Regions from separate parts of the Homo sapiens genome. Here all the other regions are linked to region 1. The links are contacts of gene promoters, found by promoter capture Hi-C in blood cells and fetal thymus (Javierre and others, 2016). All regions are on one chromosome and are shown on one strand. The core of a region is centred on a gene start or on the middle of the fragment in contact, and the rest is flanking DNA. Distances in the headings are between cores, read along the strand shown.

The links. Contacts are between HindIII fragments. The CHiCAGO score rates a contact against its expected background, and 5 or more counts as called.
Region 2: a fragment that was not itself captured here is called in contact with the fragment with the promoter of EPCIP in region 1 in 2 of 17 cell types (non-activated CD4 T cells and fetal thymus); the score reaches 7.4 in non-activated CD4 T cells.
Region 3: a fragment that was not itself captured here is called in contact with the fragment with the promoter of EPCIP in region 1 in 3 of 17 cell types (total CD4 T cells, monocytes and non-activated CD4 T cells); the score reaches 5.5 in total CD4 T cells.
Region 4: a contact is called between the fragment with the promoter of TMEM50B here and the fragment with the promoter of EPCIP in region 1, in 13 of 17 cell types (naive CD8 T cells, total CD4 T cells, non-activated CD4 T cells and 10 more). The highest score is 15.1, in naive CD8 T cells.

Annotation. Positions count from the first base shown.
Region 1 is chr21:32,811,262-32,815,913 of GRCh38, reverse strand. It overlaps EPCIP (exosomal polycystin 1 interacting protein), which reads left to right and starts at 2,211. Exons shown (of 4, transcript NM_001162495.3): 1 at 2,211-2,322. The HindIII fragment of the contact is 1,895 bases long and covers 1,225-3,119 here.
Region 2 is chr21:33,434,502-33,439,563 of GRCh38, reverse strand. It overlaps IFNGR2 (interferon gamma receptor 2), which reads right to left. Exons shown (of 7, transcript NM_005534.4): 7 at 2,048-2,736. The coding sequence ends at 2,602. It also overlaps a transcript of TMEM50B not described here. Among named protein-coding and RNA genes, the nearest start is that of IFNGR2, 34 kb to the right of the region's middle. The HindIII fragment of the contact is 2,047 bases long and covers 2,441-4,487 here.
Region 3 is chr21:33,453,437-33,458,410 of GRCh38, reverse strand. It overlaps TMEM50B (transmembrane protein 50B), which reads left to right. Exons shown (of 7, transcript NM_006134.7): 6 at 2,627-2,684. Among named protein-coding and RNA genes, the nearest start is that of TMEM50B, 24 kb to the left of the region's middle. The HindIII fragment of the contact is 4,983 bases long and covers 462-4,974 here.
Region 4 is chr21:33,478,645-33,483,712 of GRCh38, reverse strand. It overlaps TMEM50B (transmembrane protein 50B), which reads left to right and starts at 3,739. Exons shown (of 7, transcript NM_006134.7): 1 at 3,739-3,875. It also overlaps the pseudogene RPS5P3. The HindIII fragment of the contact is 5,416 bases long and covers 1,401-5,068 here.

The DNA of each region.
Region 1 (4,652 bases), core at 962-3,461:
CAAGAAGGTAACAGACTCAAGGTTTGAACCAAGATCCACTTTGCTATTCTTACATGGTAGAATTCATATATGTGCTTTGCTGAAACTGATCACCCAACAATAGCAGCCTCTCTCTATTCTCAATTCCCTTTATTCTGGCTGTGATTCACTGGCTTTCCAAATGGCTGAATAGGCCTGGGACTCTTCCACCTCCAAACCTTTGCTCCAGCAATTTTCTTAATTACTTGAGTTCCTTTATCCTGTGGGCCACCGAGAAGCCATTTGTGCCAGGCTCTCTGGGTGCAGAAAGGAGGAAGGATATATCCATCAGCTTGGATCCGCAGTTCATCAAATAATCACTCCATGAGAGATCGTTGTCCTTTCCCCCACATCTGACCATGCAGATCTCAGCCATCCCTTAAGGCCTAGATCCAAAACTACCTCTCCCCAAGGACTTCACCAGTCTCCCTGGCAAAGGCCGACCTTCACTGGGATTCCCCTGCATTGTGTCTGTATCTCCCTTCAAACATTTCCCAGATGCAACTTACATAATTGCCCCTCCTATAGTATAACTTCCTTAAAGACAAGAACCATGACATTGATCTCTGTGCCCCTTAAATCTCCTGGCACAGTGCATGTGTGTGGTAAGGATTCAGTAGATGAATAATAAATAAATGAATGAATAAATTTCCCTACTGAGGTGCTCTCTTCTTTAACATATTGGAGAATCTGTATCTGGGTAATTACAAATCAATTGCTCCAGACTCCTAGTGCTTTTAATTAGCAAGATTTTTCTTTATCTCAGCAGTCCCCTTCTTGGCACTAGAGACCAGTTTCATGGAAGATAATTTTTCCACAGACAGGCAGGGGTAGGAGGTGGTTTGGGGATGATTCAAGCGATTACATTTATTGTGCACTTTGTATTATTATTGCATTATAATATATAATGAAATACTTATACCACTCACCATAATGTAGAATCAGTGAGAGCCCTGAGCTTGTTTTCTTGCAACTAGACTGTCCCATCTAGGGGTGATGGGAGACAGTGACAGATCATCAGGCATTAGATTCTCATATGGAGCATGCAACCTAGATCCCTCGCATACACAGTTCACAATAGTTCACAATAGAATAGCATTCTCAATTCAATCCTATGAGAATCTAATGCCACTGCTGATCTGACAGAAGGCAGAGCTCAGGTGGTAATGTGATTGATAGGGAGCGGCTGTAAATACAGATGAAGCTTCTTCTCTTGCTCACCCACTGCTCAACTCCTACTGTAGCATGGACTGGTACCAGTCCGTGGCCTGGAGATCGGGGACCCCTGCCTTATCTTTTTTTCCCATATTTAGTGAGACTTCATCAGTTGTTAAGGCCCAGGTATTTATCTTCCCTTAAAATACATATATTGAAACCTAATCCTTAATGTGATAGCATAGGAGGTGGAGATGTTGGAATGTGATTAGGTCATGAGGGTGGAGCCCTTATGAATGGGATTAGTGCCCTTGTAAGAAGCTGAAGAAACCACAGTTTCCCTTCCACCATGTAAGGACTCAGCTAGAAGGTGCCATCTATGAACCAGGAAGCAGACCCTCACCAGAAAACAAATCTGCCTTGATCTTGGCCTTCCCAGCCTACAGAAATAAATATGTTGTTTGTAAGTTACCCAACTAATGGTATTTTGTTATAGAAGCCCACATGGACTATCAGTTAATGTACATAGAATAATTGTTACCTATTTATTGGTTTTGTGGCTTCTAATATTTTTTTAAATGAATTTTAAAAAAGACAGAGAATAATGTCTATCTTTGGAGTTCAAATGAGTTTTTTTTCTTTGGAACAACTACGATAGGACACTTTATACAGTAGTGCAGGCATTTACCATAAGTAACAATTCATCAGACCAAAAAAGGTGGAATAAATCATGAAAGTAAAAGTATCAAGGAGTCTCCGTACTCTACATTTAATCCATTCAATTTCCTGCTAAAGTAGAATTTCTTCCATTTGTGTCAATCCTTTGGGATCAGCCTACAGCAACAGTCTCCTCAGTTTCTTCTAGAAACTTCCCAGTTTAGAACCCCAAAAGAGTGGTCAGCAGTCACCAAGGCAGGTTCTCTCCTGCGTGTAGTTAATGAGACTGGTAGGCCAGCAGCTTCCTCCTGGTTGCCATGGAAATGACCAGGCTGCTGGCCCTCCGAAGACGGAAAAGAACAGCAAGTGCAAGACCACGCATTCCACCCTGGCTTGCAGATTAAACCAGCTGTCAAGCCAGGGTGAAGGATCCGTGGCCAGGCAGAGGTCTGTGGAGTGGAGAGGCGAGGCCTCACGGTGGAACTCTCAGATGTAAGTAATTTCTGTGTTCTTCTTTTTTAAAAAGCATGTCTAGTCTGACAGTTTTTCAGAGCTTCAGAATTTCTGCTGCATGGCAGGAACTGTGACGGTTGGAAGAACCATTGTCAGGGTCACCTTCTTGTTGCATTTGCATTTCCTGAACATAATGTACATGTATGAGTGGCTTTCACTATGAAACACTTTTTTAGGCTTCCAGGCATATGAATTCCTCTTTACTGAGATTCTGCCTTTAAAATGAAAGATTTTCAGTGCATTAAGCAAAGAATGACATGGTCTTCTCATTTAAACCCTAAAAAGATAAACTCACTTAAAGCTAATATAACAGATAGCTCCTTGAAATCTTGTCTCTATTTTAAAACATCTGGCTAGACTTTTCCATTAGTCTTCAATGCTAAATAACAATTAAGGAAAAGAGATATGATATCTCTTTTCCTTATTGTGATCACAAACAAAGAAAAGTGAGAACTCCCAAAACACCGGCTGATACTGTTTCTTTGCTCTGTTTTATCTTTTAATAATATTATATTTACTGCCTATTTACACACCAGGCTTTATAGAGTTTGCTGATTAGAAAACAAAGAAAAGAAAGTAAGCTAAGATGAGCATTAACATTTGGATTGGATAGTTCGTGTTTTTAAAAAATTGGTCTTTTATTCAAAAGTGAAAAAGCATGATAAATAATGTAGCAAAAGGCAAGATGAAGAGGGGAATGTTTTAATTCAAAATGAGTAGAACATATACAGTCTTGCATTTATTTCTTTGTTTAATAAGCATATTTTTGGAAAGCTTTTAGCAAAAAGTATGTTGGTGTATACTGAGGACAGGAAATGTTTCAAAAACATTGTGCATAATATTTATAAAAAACCCACCCTTAAAAAATACCAAAAAAAAGACTTCATTTGTTTGAAAATTTTTTACCGAAAAGAGCCATCCTTGAGAAGTTTTTTGCTTTTTTTTAGTCTAAATAATGCAATATGTTTGGAAGGAAAAAAAAAGACTTTTCATTACTTTTTTTTCTGACAGAAATTGGGCATTTTCTGAAAATAACAGTTTCAATAAAGTATTTATGGAAATGAGTGCTTTTCAAGAGCTGACTTGGATTTCTCATCTTTCTTTTCCACACTAATATTTTTCACTGCTTAAAGCTGCCACATTATCAGCTTTTAAAATTCAGTGCCCAGTGGCTTGTGTCTGTGTCTGTGGGAGCTAATAGGTCAATAGGCCCCAGTGGGAAGAACAGGCAGGCCTCACAGTTCTGTGGGCGTGGGACCAAGGGGCAGCTGTGCAAAGCTGTGGATGTGAACCCCAGTGATGCAATTAACTGAGTGTCTACCAAGTCACTCAAGGGGAAAGCCTGAAGGATTTGCACTCATTGCCTAATTCACTCTCTCAAGGACTGTGTCAAGTAGAAAAGTACGGTAGCCACATATTTTAGTTAGGACTTCCCAGTGGCTCACTCTCTGAGAATTCTTTGTCCCACATTCCATACCTATGTTAGCAGAAGCAGCACTCTGCTCATATTGTCCTCTATTCTGATTATGAACTTAAGAACAGAAATTTCTTTCTTATGGTTCTGGAGACTGGGAATTCCAAGGTCAAGGGGCCTGCATCTGGCAAGGGCATTCTTGCTGTTTCATTCCATGGTGGAAGGTGAAAGGGCAAGAGAACATGTGCACACACATAAGAGAGACAGAGAGAAAGGGGGTCAAATTCATCCTTTTATTTGAAACCTATTCCCATGGTGACCAACCCACTCCTCAATAACAGCATTAATCCATTCATGAGGGCACCGCCCTCTTAAAGGTCACCCCTTAAAGCTCCCACTTCTCAACACTGTTGCACTGGGGATTAAGTTTCCAACACGTGAACTTTAGGAAACACATTCAAATCATAGCATTTAGCATGAGGGTTCTATACACATATAGGTTAAAGGCTACAGCATCTAGTAATAGAATACAATGCATGGAATCTCACTTGAATAGGCCCAAGACCCTGGGGTAGGAAATAGCGCTGTAATTTCCACCATGACTCTTCAGAGTATAGTTGGCTGTCTGGGTTCAAATTTTAGCCATTATTAACTAGTTCTGTGACCTTGGACAAGTTATTTAACCTCCCTGAGTACCCATGTATCATTTCCTGATATGAAAATGGGACCATATGCAGTGGCTCATGCTTGTAACCCCAGCACTTTGAGAGGCTGTGGTGGGTGGATCACTTGAGGTCAGGAGTTCGAGACCAGCCTGGCCAAAATGGCGAAACCCAGTCTGTACTAAAAATACAAAAATTAGCTGGGCGTGGTGGTGCAACACCTATAATGCCAA
Region 2 (5,062 bases), core at 2,215-4,714, 620 kb before region 1:
TACTAAAAATACAAAAATTAGCTGGGTGTGGTGGCGCACATCTGTAATCCCAGCTACTCTGGAGGCTGAGGCACAAAAATCGCTTGAACCCGGAAGGCAGAGGTTGCAGTGAAGTGAGATTGTGCCACTGCGCTCCAGCCTGGGCAACAGGGTGAGACTGTGTCTCTAAATAAATAAATGGGGTGGCACAGATGCACTTACCCTAACAGAGTTGATTTGCCCTCTGTCCTGCTGGGCTGAAACTCTTTCCTGTTCTCCTGCTATAGATGTATCCTCCACTCCTCGCTGGCCACCATCCTGCTGCCCAACAGAAGAAGCTCTTCTGTCTCCGATTTCCTGAACGGTCTAAGGTAAGTCTTTACAACTCCTATCTACAACTTCTTCCTCCAAACTTGTCTACTTAAGGTGCACCTAATGCATACAACAGATGCTTCACAGGGAGACTTGTGTGCATGGGGTGGGAGTGGGCCTTGTTTTTCTAACTCTTGCCACTGCAGACAGCATGGTACACAACACTTAAGAGAGTTAGCCACTTTTGCCGGACACGGTGGCTCACGCCTGTGATCTCAACCCTTTGGGAGACCAAGGTGGGTGGATCATGAGGTCAGGAGTTCGAGACCAGCCTGGCCAACATGGTGAAACCCCATCTCTACTAAAAATACAAAAATTAGCCAGGCATAGTGGTGCACGCCTGTAATCCCAGCTATTCGGGAGGCTGAGGCAGGAGAATTGCTTGAACCTGGGAGGTGGAGGTTGCAGCGAGCTGAGATCGCGCCACTGCGCTCCAGCCTGGGCGACAGAGTGAGACTCTGTCTCAAAAGAAAAAAAAAAAGCCACTTTCTTACCAGCAGTACAGGGCCCCAACTGCCTCCCATGTAGCTGGGATTATAGGTGCCTGCCACCACACTCAGCTAATTTTTGTGCTTTTAGTGGAGACAGGCTTTCACCATGTTGGCCAGGCTGGTCTCGAACTCCTGACCTCAGGTGATCTGCCTGCCTCGGCCTCCCAAAGTGCTGGGATTACAGGTGTGAGCCACCGTGCCCAGCCTATAAATGGATTTTAAATACATATCCTTTGAACAACAGAGCCCGACAGTACTGACACAATCAGATGACTTGCGTGCTCAGTAGATAACATTACTATTGATTAATCAGTTAATTCTCTTTATTGCCCACAAATCCCTGCCTTGGTCAACACAGTGTGACTTGTCACATATAAATGAAGTGCTAATGTGCCTTCTGCAAATCCCCCTTATAACTTTTATATTTTTGAGACAGGGTCTCTTGCTCTGTTGCCAAGGCTGGAATGTAGTGGTGTAATCATTGCTCACTGCAGCCTTGAACTCCTAACTCCTAGGCTCAAATGATCCTCTGGTCTCAGCCTCCTGAGTAGCTGGGACTACGGGTGTGCACCACCACGACTAGCTAATTTTTTATTTTTTGTGAAAACAAGGTCTCACTATGTTGCCCAGGCTGTTCTCAAACTCCTGGCCTCAAGCGATCCTCCCATCTTGACCTCCCAAAGTGCTGGGATTACAGGCATGAGCCACCATGCCCAGCCCTCTTTTTTTTTTTTTTTTTGAGATAGGGTCTCGCTCTGCCTCCCACGCTGGAGTGCAGTGGCATCATTTCGGCTCATGGTAACCTCCGCCTCCCAGGCTAAAGCATCCTCCCACTTTAGCCTCTCAAGTAGCTGGGACTACAGGTGCATGTCATCATGCCTGGATAATTTTTGCATTTTTCATAGAGACAGGGTTTCACCATGTTGCCCAGGTGGGTCTAGAACTCCTGGCCTCAAGTGATCCACCCACCTCAGCCTCCCAAAGTGCTGGGATTATAGGCGTGGGCCACTGCACTAGGCCCTGGCCTTCTTTATAACCTTTGGAGGATCAAGTGACATCCATAGGAAGTGTTTGCTGAGTTCCCATGAGGCCTCAGTAGCTCTAGCAGGTGTTATTTAAGAAAAAACAAGTTTAGATTGAGTAATTTTAGAAAGCTGAAACTCTGCAGAAAATAGGCTACAATAAAGAAAACACTTCACATAGACTTTAAAAAACATGCACTATACAATCTTTTATTTCCAGTTTAAAAACAAAATCTTAAATTACTAGGAGTATATTTACAAGATTAATTACATTTTAAGCCAGCACACCATGGATGTACATGAAGGGCCACTCGGTGTCCCTCGCTGGGACAGGTTGTGTGACCTGCCCAAGGGGCTCCGGCTCATTTGCCAAAGTCAAGACGACGACCAGGTCTTCTGACTGCTCAGCCCAACCAATAATGAAAAAAGTATCAGAGATGTGTCATATCCATTTTGCTAACAAGCAATTACATGCCTTTTTAGTGTTTAAGAGAAGCCTTAATTTTCCTGGGATATCTCCGTAAAATCATTCTGGAATTTGATTTTGAAAATTCTTTAAGAAAAAAAAAAAAAGCTTGTCACCCCCATGAGACCTGCTGTCTCTCATGTCTGCAGGGACAGGCCTTTTAGAGGCAGCAAAAGGGAATACTGGTCTCTGGAAAGTCCAGACAGAACTCTAGCAGCTCCGATGGCTTGATCTCTTCCAGGGAGCCAGTGGGCTAGGCCCATGCTTTGGTTCAAAGCGTTTGGAGAACATCTTCTTGCTCCTTTTCCGGAAACGAGATAATGGACACAGAGTCCCAGACGTCATCCTTTGGTGAGCTGTCCTTGTCCAAGGCCTCTAAGATGGGCTGAGTTGGGTCTTTTAAATACTTGAGGAGGTTGGAAAGCAAAATTGTAATTAGTTTACCAGTTCAGTATACCAGACCTTTTAACTTTAGTTTTTGTTTTTATTTTATTTTTATTTTTATTTTTTTTTTGAGATGGAGTCTTACTCTTGCCTAGGCTGGAGTATAGTGGTGTGATCTCAGCTCACTGCAACCTCTGCTTCCCAGGTTCAAGCGATTCTCCTGCCTCAATCCTCCAAGTAGCTGGGACTACAGGTGCCCACCACCTTGCCTGGCTAATTTTGTATTTTTAGTAGAGACAGGGTTTCACTATGTTGGCCACGCTGGTCTCAAACTCCTGATCGCAAATGATCCACCCACCTTGGCCTCCCAAAGTGCTGGGATTATAGGCGTGAGCCACTACGCCTGGCCTACTTTAGTTTTAATTGGTATAGTTATTTTATTCAGATATAAGTTGATTCTGTCCACCAATGACATAACTTATTTTTCTTTTTATTCAACAATGAAACAATTTTTTTTTTTTGAGACGGAGTTTCACGTTGTTGCCCAGGCTGGAGTGCAATGACACGATCTCATCTCACTGCAACCTCTGCCTCAGCCTCCCAAGTAGCTGGGATTACAGGCATGCACCACCACACCCTGCTAATTTTGTATTTTAAGTAGAGACGGGGTTTCCCATGTTGGTCAGGCTGTCTCGAACTCCTGACCTCAGGTGATCCGCCCGCCTCGGCCTCCCAAAGTGCTGGGATTGCAGGTGTGAGCCACTGCACCCGGCAACAATTTTTTATTGTTGTTGAGTCAGTCTCTTTTTCGCCCAGGCTGGAGTGCAGTGGCGCGATCTCGGCTCACTGCAACTTCCGCCTCCTGGGTTCAAGCAATTCTCCTGCCTCAGCTTCCCAACCAAGTAGCTAGGATTGCAGGCGTGCACCACCACGGCTGGCTAATTTTTTTTTTTTTTTTTTTTTTTTTGAGACGGAGTCTTGCTCTGTTGCCAGGCTGGAGTGCAGTGGCGTGGATCTCAGCTCACTGCAGCCTCCGCCTCCTGGGTTCAAGTGATTCTCCTGCCTCAGCCTCCCAAGTAGCTGGGACTACAGGCGCATGCCACCATGCCTGGGTAATTTTTGTATTTTTAGTAGAGACAGGGTTTCACCCTGTTGGCCAGGATGGTCTCGATCTCCTGACTTCATGATCCACCCACCTCGGCCTCTCAAAGTGCTGGGATTACAGGCATGAGCCACCTCACCCAGCCAACAACTTCTAATAGTTGAATACTCCTTACCCCTCATCTCAGTAATCACTTTAATACTCATCCCAGGGCTGACCATGTTAATATGCTGAGAGTTTAAAAGGGCAAAACTCAGGAAAAGCAAGTTTTGTTTTTTTCTTCTGATTTTCTGATTGGAAGAAAAGCAAGTTCTTCCTTGCAACCCTCAGTGTAGGCCTGTGGGTTATTAATCTTAAGACGTCTCTAAAATTGTAACCTTTCAGTGAAGGAGGGACTGGGGGCTCTTGTTCAGCTGTGATGGGGAAAAAGAGGGCAAGTTCACAAGCATTGGTCTCAGGCACTCCTCCACCCCTCCCCTTGCACCAGCGCACAGCAAGCAGAGAATCTGGGAGCGAGGGCCTTAGGCCTTAACATATAAAGGGGTGTTTCCCAGCGATTAATTTCCCTTTTGCTCCCGCAGGCTTTAGGCTTAGCCATAGATTCACCAAGTTACCAAGAATCTAGTGTCTAGCTCTTGGAAATGCTGAAAGATACTGGAAGACAATAAGCTTGTAGCTGACTGACTGAAAGAGGAACAAAACCAAAACATGTACCCTTGTGAAACCCCAGAATTATAAGTGAAACATGATTCACTGTTCCCATGTAACTCAGAGACCTTTGGCGGATGTTCTTTATGCTTTCCTAGAAAAGTGAACTGACAGGCCTGTGTTTTCTGTTCATGTCTCAGAGGAATGACTCATAGTATATTCATGTACTGGGGCTCAGCTGGTAGTTCTACCAGGAGAGAGAGAGATTATTACTGCAAGTAAGATTCTGAGACCTGTTAGGAGCTGTGATTTTGTGACAATATTAACCAGGGAGGTTCTAGTAGGGAATCTGTATACTGCCTGTGTACCTACAATACATCATGGCAGATGAAGGAACAAGTGACTAGGGTTCTTTCTGAAAGTGCTGCTATGTTTCTGCAGACTTGGACCTTATCTAACCTCTGTTCATCCCACATGTAACTGAGTAACATTCTGCTTCCAACACCTTTACTCTAGGTTTACCCAAGAATAATGTGAAGCCTCCAGAAGCAAATGCTTTTTATTTATTTTATTTTTTTGAGATGGAGTCTTGCTCTGC
Region 3 (4,974 bases), core at 1,704-4,203, 640 kb before region 1:
TCCTAAGTAGCTGGGACTGCAGGTGCATGCCACCACGCCCAGATAATTTTTGTATTTTTAGTAGAGATGGGGTTTCACCATATTGGTCAGGCTGGTCTCGAATTCCTGACCTCAGGTGATCCACCCACCTCAGCCTCCCAAAGTGCTGGTATTACAGGCGTGAGCCACTGTGCCCAGCCGGAAAGTGTGTTTTAAACTCATTTTATCCCTGACTGTAAGAAGGGTGGGCTGCTGTCACTGATTTTCTTAAAAGGTCTCCATAGTTATGTTAAAGAAAAACTTTAGATAAATTAGCAATTTGAGCAAACCAAGAAGAGGTTCGGAGAGCTTCACCCAGCAGCATGAGCAGCTGTAGGCTGAACACAAGGCAAAGACAAGAAATTTTTAGATTGTCTGTAGCTATATGTTTGTCTTATTTGTGCATGGTCTCATCAGTTGGCTGCTTGGGATTGGCTAAAGCTTAGCCGTTTGTGATTGACTAAAATTCAGCTATTTATTAAAAAATATAACCCTAGGTTTCAGTTCGTTTACGTAAGTTAGGTTCCGGGGGGTGGGTTGGGGTCACACAGGAACTCAGAGTAGGGAGATAGCCTCAGGTTAATGGCTTCCTGCTTATTTACTTTAGCAGTTGAAGTGATCCATGAGCTTTACAGTTTCTATAGTGAAAATAGGGATAAATTGCCATTTCTGTAAGGTATGTAGGGAAATATTGTTTGTAAAGGCTTTACTATTGTTGAGTGTATTTTTTTTTTTTTTTTTGAGTTGGAGTTTCACTCTTGTCGCCCAGGCTGGAGTGCAATGGCACAGTCTCGGCTCACTGCAACCTCTGCCTCCCGGGTTCAAGCGATTCTCCTGCCTCAGCTTCCCGAATAGCTGGGATTATAGCCGCCTGCCACGACTCCCAGCTAATTTTTTGTATTTTTAGTAGAGACAGGGTTTCACCATGTTGGCCAAGCTGGTCTTGAAGTCCTGATCTCAGACGATCTACCCACCTTGGCCTCCCAAAGTGTTGGGATTACAGGCATGAACCACCGCTCCCAGCCAATTGTATCTTAATATTTAAAGAACTAGTAAATATTGATAAATTTCTTGATTGTGAATTTCATCTTTCTATTTCAACAGCATTACTCATTTAAATATACTTTTCTTTTTTTTTTAAGATGGAGTTTCGCCCTGTCGTCCAGGCTAGAGTGCAGTGGTATAGTCTTGGCCCACGGCAACCTCTGCCTCCTGGGTTCAAGTGATTCTCCTGTCTCAATCTCCCAAGTAGCTGGGATTACAGCCATCCACCACCACACTTGGCTAATTTTGTATTTTTAGTAGAGACAGGGTTTCCCCATGTTGGCCAGGCTGGTCTCAAACTCCTGACCTCAAGTGATCTACCCGCCTCGGCCCCCCAAAGTGCTGGGATTACAAGCGTGAGTCACCACACCCAGCCTAAATATACTTTTCTATTTGTAAAGTGAATATGACTTTATTTCAGAGAGCATTTCTAGGCCATGTTTCAAATCTTTTACTGTACAGATTTGCTTGAACTATTAATATTCATAGTAATAGCTAACTTTTATATATTACTTTATAGGCTAGATACTGTTCTAAGCACTATATAGAGTCACTCATCTAATTCTTACACTCTGGAGTAGGTGCTATTACAATGCCCGTTTTACAGGTGAGGAAATGAAGATATGCTGAGGTTAAATAATTTGCCCAAGGTCATACAGTTAGTCATTGGTATAGATAGGATTCAAACCTGGGTCTGGCTCAAACTTGGAGCTCTTAACCATGCTGCTGTATTGTTTGCTATGATATCAAGAGCTCAGAATTGAACCAGTTTCTTCATCTTCTCCAGTATTTTTTAAATCAACATTTGTAGTTTTACAAAAGTTAATAATCCACAAAAATTTAAGTAGTTTCCATTTTGTTTCTTTTCTTTTCCTATAAAGATAGTAACCATTTCCTCCAGGATAGATTCAGTGAAAGAGAATGATAAATTCTAACTGTGTTATTTATATCTGACATATTTGCATGATAAAACTCCTGGATTGAGAGCCAGGCATTGTGGTGTGTGCCTGTAGTCCCATCCACTTGGGACGCTGAGGCAGGAGGATCACTTGAGCCCAGGAGTTTGGGCTGTAGTTTGCTATGATTGTGCCTGTCAGTAGCTGCTGCACTCCAGTCTGGGCAATATAGTGAGGCCCCATTTCTTTAAAAACAAACACAAAAAACCTCTTGAATTCATGAAAGAAAATAAATTAACAGACTGTTTAAAAGTCAAGAATTTATTTTGTATGTTTTTACGATTTTGCATTTCAGTGTTGGCCATAGGAGGCAAAGGAGCAAGTTACTGCTTCCTCAGCAGTTTTGATGTAGCTAGAACCAGCAATTACTTTGACTAAAAGAAAACTTTGTAAGTTCATTGACTTTTATCCAGAGTAAGAGCAGTCCTTTGCTTTGGGGGAATTAAATTGGCATTTTCTTCTTTCAGTTTCATTATAGATGTCTTACAGTTAATGAATAATAGCAGTATGTTGTAATATACAAAATGTATCATTATGAATGGCACTGATACTTTATTACTGCCGTTTGCCTATATAACCGTCTAATCTGTTTTACTTTGTGTATGTAGATACTGATGTTTATCCGGGACTAGCTGTGTTTTTTCAAAATGCACTTATATTTTTTAGGTAAGTTGCCTTATTTTTTAACCACGCCTGTAACATTTACAGAAATGTCAACTTAATTAAGGCAGCATATATATGGAACACATATAAATCCCATGGATTGGTTACAATGATAGAACTTCTTTTAAAAGGTGAGAATTCCACTGTTACATAAGAGCAGAGAGGCCTTTTAACTAGAGGTCTTGCTGTGTATCAAGACTTTAGCTGGATCCTTTATATATTTTACCCTTTGAATTCACATTTAGGCCAAGTGCTGTGGCTCATGCCTGTAATCCCAGCACTTTGGGAGGCTGAAGTGGGTGGATTGCTTAAGTCTAGGAGTTTAAGACCAGCCTGGGCAACATGGCAAAACCCTGTCTCTATAAAAAAATATAAAAATTATCTGGTTGTGGTGGTGTACAGTGCCAGCTACTCAAGAGGCTGAGGTGGGAGGATTGCTTGAGCCGAGGAGGTTGAGGCTGCAGTGAGGCAAGGCTGCACCACTGTACTCCAGCCTGGGCAATAGAGTGAGACCAAAATAAAATAAAATAATGCATTTAATTATTTTAAATATATGTCAGGTGTTATTCCCATTTTATTTATTTTTATTTTTATTTATTTATTTATTTTTTGCGAGGGAGTCTCACCCTGTAGCCCAAGCTGCCTTAGTGCAGTGGAACAATCTCGGCTCACTGCAGCCTCCGCCTCGGGACTCAGGCGATTCCCATGCCTCAGCCTCCCGAGTAGGTGGGACTACAGGTGCACACCACCACACCCAGCTAATTTTTTGTATTTTAGTAGAGACGAGGTTTCACCATATTGCCCAGAGTGGTCTCGAACTCCTGAGCTCAGACAATTTGCCTGCCTCGGCCTCCCAAAGTGCTGGGATTATAGCCACCACACCCAGTGTTATTCCCATTTTATAGATGAGGAAATAAAGTTTAGGGCTTGCTTTAGGATGCCTAGCTAGTAAATGAGAAGCCTGGATTTGAATCCAGACTGCTGCTTCCATAGCCTGTGTCTTATTAAAAAACCCTATCAGACCCATTGTTTCACTTGACTAGCCTTTCGGGAAAAAAAAAATTAACAACAACAGGTAAAGTACCTTTATGAAGAAAAAAGGAAAAACCAGAATTAATACCTAGTGGCCAGCCAGGTGTGGTGGCTCATGTCTGTAATCCCAGCACTTTGGGAGGCTGAAGTGGGTGGATCATCTGAGGTCAGGGGTTCGAGACCAGCCTGGCCAACATGGTGAAACCCCATCTCTAATAAAAATACAAACATTAGTCGGGCATGGTGGTGTGTGCCTGTAATCCCAGCTACTCGGAAGGCTGAGGCAGGAGAACCACTTGAACCCAGGAGACACGGGGGTTGGAGTGAGTCGAGATAGTGCCACTGCATTTCAGCTTGGGTGACAGAGCAAGACTCCATATCAAAATAATAATAATAATTAATACATAGTATGCATATTATATACAAAACCTGTTGGGAAATTCTGTTTTCTGAATGCCCTTTTAAGAAAAGTTAAAGTAAGTGGAAAAATAAACCAATATTAAAAGTATTTTTTAGGGGCAGTCTTCTAAAATATCCCCAAAATGAAGTCCATTCTATGCTTTTTAGAATGAATGTCTTTTTTTTTTTTTTTTTTGAGCTGGATTCTCGCTCTGTTGCCCAGGCTGATGTGCAGTGGTGCAATCTCAGCTCAATGCAACCTCTGCCTCCCAGGCTCAAGCAATTCCGTGCCTCAGCCTCCCAAGTAGCTGGGATTACAGGCATGCACTGCCACACCCAGCTAATTTTTGTATTTTTAGTAGAGATGGGGTTTTGCCATGTTGACCAGGCCGGTCTCGAACTCCTGACCTCAAGTGATCTGCCCACCTCAGCCTCCCAAAGTGGTAGGATTACAGGTGTGAGCCACCATGCCCAGCCTAGAATGAATGTCTTTTAATGTCAACATAGGATATTTAGGTATATATTTATAAAATTTTATCTGCCTCTGTCCCCATCCCCCATAAATCATTAAGTAACTTCTAAGCCTTGAAAAACTTTGCTTTTGTCACTGGTTTTAAGTAATTTGATTACGATGTACTGTGGTCTAGTTTTCTTGATATTCCTTCTGCTTGGTGTATATTGAGTTTCTTGGATCTATAGGTTTATAGTTCATCAATAAATCTAGATTCTTCTCAGCCATTATTTCTTCAAGCATTTTTTGTATCCACTGCACCCTCCCTCTGGGATTTCAATTACAGGTTATAATAGGCTGCTCGAAGTTGTCTCACAGCTTGCTAATGGTCAGATTTTTTTTTCCTGTTTG
Region 4 (5,068 bases), core at 2,490-4,989, 670 kb before region 1:
TGCTTCAGTAGCTACATGGTAGAATACCAATTGAATTAGAAAATGTGTGGTTTTTTTTTTTTTTTTTTGAGACTTAGTCTCACTCTGTCGCCCAGGCTGGAGTGCAGTGGTGCAATCTCGGCTCACTGCAAGCTCTGACTCCCAGATTCAAGCGATTCTCCTGCTTCAGCCTCTTGAGTAGCTGCGATTACAGGTGAGCGCCACCATGCCTGGCTAATTTTTGTATTTTTAGTAGAGACGGGGTTTCACCATGTTTGCCAGGCTGGTCTCGAATGCCTGACCTCATGGTCTGTCCGCCTCGGCCTCCCAAAGTGCTGGGATTACAGGCTTGAGCCACCGCACCCGGCCATGTGTGGTTTTTTTTTTTAAAGGCTGATTTACAATTCTACTAAATACTTAAATCAGTACATTTGGAATTGACAGCGAAATGTTGACATCAGCAACTTAATCCCCGTATCTTTCAAATGCCTTTTTTTTTTTTTTTTTTGAGACGGAGTCTTGTTCTGTCGCCCAGGCTGGAGTGCAGTGGCGTGATCTTGGCTCACTGCAACCTCTGCCTCTCGGATTCAAGTGATTCTCCTGCCTCAGCCTCCTGAGTAGTTGGGATTACAGGCATGTATCACCATGCCCAGCTAATTGTTTTTTCTTTTTAGTTGAGACGGAATTTTACCATGTTGACCAGGCTGATCTGGAACTCCTGACCTCAGGTGATCCAACCGCCTCTGGTTCCCAAAGTGCTGGGATTACAGGTGTGAGGCACTGTGCTCGGCCAAATGCCCATATTTTTGAAAGCATAACTAAATACATGTTTGACTCTTTGTGGAATAGAGGTTTATAGACTGAGAGAAGCAAATTGTGCTATGGTTTGAATGTGTCCCCAAAAAGTTCATGTGTTTGAAACTTAATTACTATTGTAATCGTGTTGAGAGGTAGAACCTTGAAGATGTGATTGGGTCATGAGGGCTCCACCCTCACGAATGGATTAATGCTGTTATTGTGGGAGTGGGTTAGTTATCTTGGGATTGGGCTCTTGGTAAAAGGATAGCGTCAGCCTGATTTTCTCCTTCTGTCTTGTATGCTCGTTGGCCCCTGTCTGTCTTGTTTTCTACCATGGGATGACACAGCATGAAAATCCTTACAAGATGCCAGCACCATGCTCTTGGAGTTCCCGGCTTCCAGAACTGTGGACCAAATAAAACACTATTGTTTATAAATTGCCTGTTCTGTGTTATTCTGTTATAGCAGTAGAAAAGGACTTCAGACAAGCTGCATTAACATAAGTCTCCACTACTAAAAAAGCAACTTAAAGCATGTGCATCCCAACGGTAGGTGAACAGTAATGTCTTCCTTCATATATGGAGGTAATCATTTTTCTACAGATATTATTCTGTAACAAAGCTTAAAAAAATCCTGGGAAACCTTAAAATATTAGTACTTTAAAAAGCAATGGCCTGTCTGTGCCAGGGCAGCATGTGGTCCATGCTGATCGACAGAGACACTCAGGCTGTGCCCTCAGGATGACCGAGTGGGAGACAGCAGCACCAGCAGTGGCAGAGACCCCTTGACATCAAGCTCTCTGGGAAGTGGAGCACTGATGATATGCAGATCAATGGCATTTCCCTGCAGGATTACACTGCAGTGAAGGAGAAGTATGCCAAGTACCTGCCTCACAGTGCTGGGTGGTATGCAGCCAAATGCTTCCGCAAAGCTCAGTGCCCCATTGTGGAGCCCCTCACTAACTCCATGATGATGCACGGCTGCAACAACAGCAACAAGCTCATGATCATGTGCATCATCAAGCATGCCTTCGATTTCATCCACCTGCTCACAGGCGAGAACCCTCTCCAGGTCCTGGTGAACGCCATCATCAACAGTGGTCCCTGGGAGGACTCCACATGCATTGGGCGAGCAGGGACTGTGAGACAACAGGCTGTGGACATGTCCCCACTGCACTGTGTGAATCAGGTCGTCTGGCTGCTGTGCACAGGCACTCGTGAGGCTGCCTTCTGGAACATCAAGACCATTGCTGAGTGCCTGGCGGATGAGCTCATCAATGCCACCAAGGCCTCCTCCAGCTCCTATGCCATCAACAAGAAGGATGAGCTGGAGTGTGGGGACAAGTCCAACCGCTGATTTTCCTGGCTGCTGCCTAATAAACCAGTCTGCCCTTTGGGATGCCTCCCCCACCCCCCCAAAAAAAGTGATGAGATTTGGAAACTTCTAATTGTCCCCTAATATCTAGTTTTCCTTCCTTAGTACTGAAACCCCATTTTCCAGCCTTCTTTGCAATTTGGTGTAGTCAAGTGACTATTTTACTAGCAGAATGAAAACAAAAATGGTACATGCAACCCCCGCCCCTTTCAAAAGGTTCTTAAAGAGAGGAGAGTGTTCCCTTCTGTATCCTCTCTTCTGGTGGAATGCCAGCATTGTGACATATTTCAAAAGTAAATTATTCAGCACATATTTATTGAACACCTAGATCCTAGCCCATGTATAAGAGCTATAGGAGAACATTATCCAGGATGGCATTTTTGGTGATAATTCCATGATACAAAACCTTTTACTTCATTATGCCTCAAGTAAAATGCTTTTTAGATTTCCACTGATAATAACTCTACTTGGCTGGGCACAGTGGCCCACGCTTGTAATCCCAGCATTTTGGGAGGCAGAGGCGGGTGGATCACCTGAGGTCAGGAGTTCAGGATCAGCCAGGTGAAATCCCGTCTCTACTAAAAATACACAAATTAGCCAAGCATGGTGGTGCGCACCTGTAATCCCAGCTACTCGGAAGGCTGAGGTGGGAGGATTGATTGAGCGTGGGAGGTAAGAGGCTGCAGTGAGCCAAGATCACACCACTGCACTCCACCCTGGACAACAGAGCAAGACCCTGTCTCAAAACAAACAAACAAACCACCCAAAAAACAAAGCTCGACTTTCCCCCAAACAACTAAATGGTTATAGGCATTTCTGTAGGAAATTTAGACGGGGCTTCCAAACGCTGTTAAAGTTATGTTGAAAATCCAAGAGGCTGAAAGATATCTGACTATAAGAAAGACGAAAAAAAAAAAAAAAGACAAAAATCTACGTGAATAGACGGGAGAGCGCCGAGCGAAATCAGAAGACTAGTTGTATTGTGAGGATCACCTCGGGTAACCAGCACTCGCTGGGTAGCCCTGGTTTACTAACTTCAACTTTCTGGGGCTCCATTTCTGAATTGAGGGGATTAGAAAAAGGCATCTCTAAAGACCCTCCGTTCCCGAGAACCCTCCCGGAGCACCTTCCCTACTCTGGGCAGCTCGCAGACAGACAAGACTGATCGGCCATAGGCGAAGGGAAACCCTGGTCCCCCGGGTCTCGAGCTCCGTCCGCACGTAATCTCACGGTACTGCACTTCAAGTCAGCGTGCAGAAACGCAGCAGTGGGAGCCCGGCGGCGGCCGCCCACCGGCAGGGGACAGGAGAGGCCCGTCCCGCTCTGCCCGGAACCGTAGATAGCTGGGTCTGAACTCCGGCTCCGGGAGGCCTGCAGAGCAGCCCACCCCGTCCCTCGGAGCTCGCCCTGCCCCCGGCCGGCCACTTGCTGCACGCCGATTGGTCGCGAGGAGCGCCCGGCGTCCCGCTGCGCCCAGCCAACGCCCTCTCCCCGCCCCCTCGCGTCCCGCCCCGCCCCCGGCCGGCCACTTGCTGCGCTCCGATTGGTCGCTGCGGTGCACACGGCGCCTCGCCCCGCCTCACCGGCGCTCTATCCTCGCGTCTGCTCCCAGCTCCGGGCTCCCGGGGCTGAGGTGGAGCCGCGGGACGCCGGCAGGGTTGTGGCGCAGCAGTCTCCTTCCTGCGCGCGCGCCTGAAGTCGGCGTGGGCGTTTGAGGAAGCTGGGTGAGTCCTGTCTGTGGGTCTCCGGCGCCAGGCAACCGTAGAGGGCTCGCGCCCGCCGCCCGCGCGTAAGGAGGCTCCCTCGTCGGGCCCTGTCCGGCCCGGCCTTCTGGGGGCTGTGGGGCCGTCCAGCCGGGTTTTCCCTGCGTTCGGCGCCGGCCTGCAGACTCGGGCCCGCGGAGCCCCCGCCGCCCCTTCTTGCCCCTGCCCGCGTCCCTTCGGGCCGACCGTGACCGTGGCGCCGCCGCGACCCGCAAGCAGCCCGGGGAGGCTGCCCTGCCGCGCTGTCACGCCGTCAGGTTGCGTTCCTGGGGAGGGCTGGAGAGGCTCCATCTCGTGCCTTTCACCTTCTCGCGCGGCGGGCACGGAGGCGACGGTTTTCGGGACGCCCTGCTGCGGCCGCGACGCCCTCCCGAGGCCGGAGCGAGGGCCCCGGGGCGGCTCCAGCCCTTCTTCGCCCCTCCCGTTTGCCCCGAACCATTGCTAGGAGCCTGTGTTTTCTGCACTTTTCTGATTTCATTCTTACGAGAGTCAAGTACAGAGGCGGGAGGGGAAAGGGAAGGGGAACAACATTCTTTCGAGAATTATAAACCTTGAGCTCCGTTAAATAAGTAGCAGCAGAGCATTGTCACTGGAGCAGTGGTAGTCGCGGGTAGGACCGTTTCGGTTTTTAGCCAATAGGCTGGTTAAAGGTACTTAAAACAGTAAGTTGGAAGGTGCTGAAATTCTAAGGTAAATACGTGACCTTTCAAAACCAAAGCAGTGAGACGGGCTAGGCTGGGCTGCTCCCCGCTGCGCGTGCCTGGGTCGGGGGGTGCGGAGGGGCAGGGGGCGGAGGCCTCGGACGGGACGGGGTGGGAGGGAAGTGGCATCCGCATCGTCTTACATCGCGCTGTAAGACCCGATTTTCTCTTTTCGGAGGATCCCATCTCCCTTCTCAGACTCTTCATCCTACCTGCACTGTGGATCCCTTGACACTTCAGAGGCTCTGAACTCTCAGGCCGGTCACACTTTTTCATCATTTTGTTTCTTGTCTTTTAAACCTGCATGCATTTCAAACGTAGAGCAAACATTAAACTTTTTTTTTAAACTGAAGATAGTGGTGCAAGACTTTGTTATTGAAATGCAAACCAAAAGTTATCTTGAATATTTATCGCGCTGGAAAAGCAGGTTTAATTAGAGTGAGGTGGGGACGT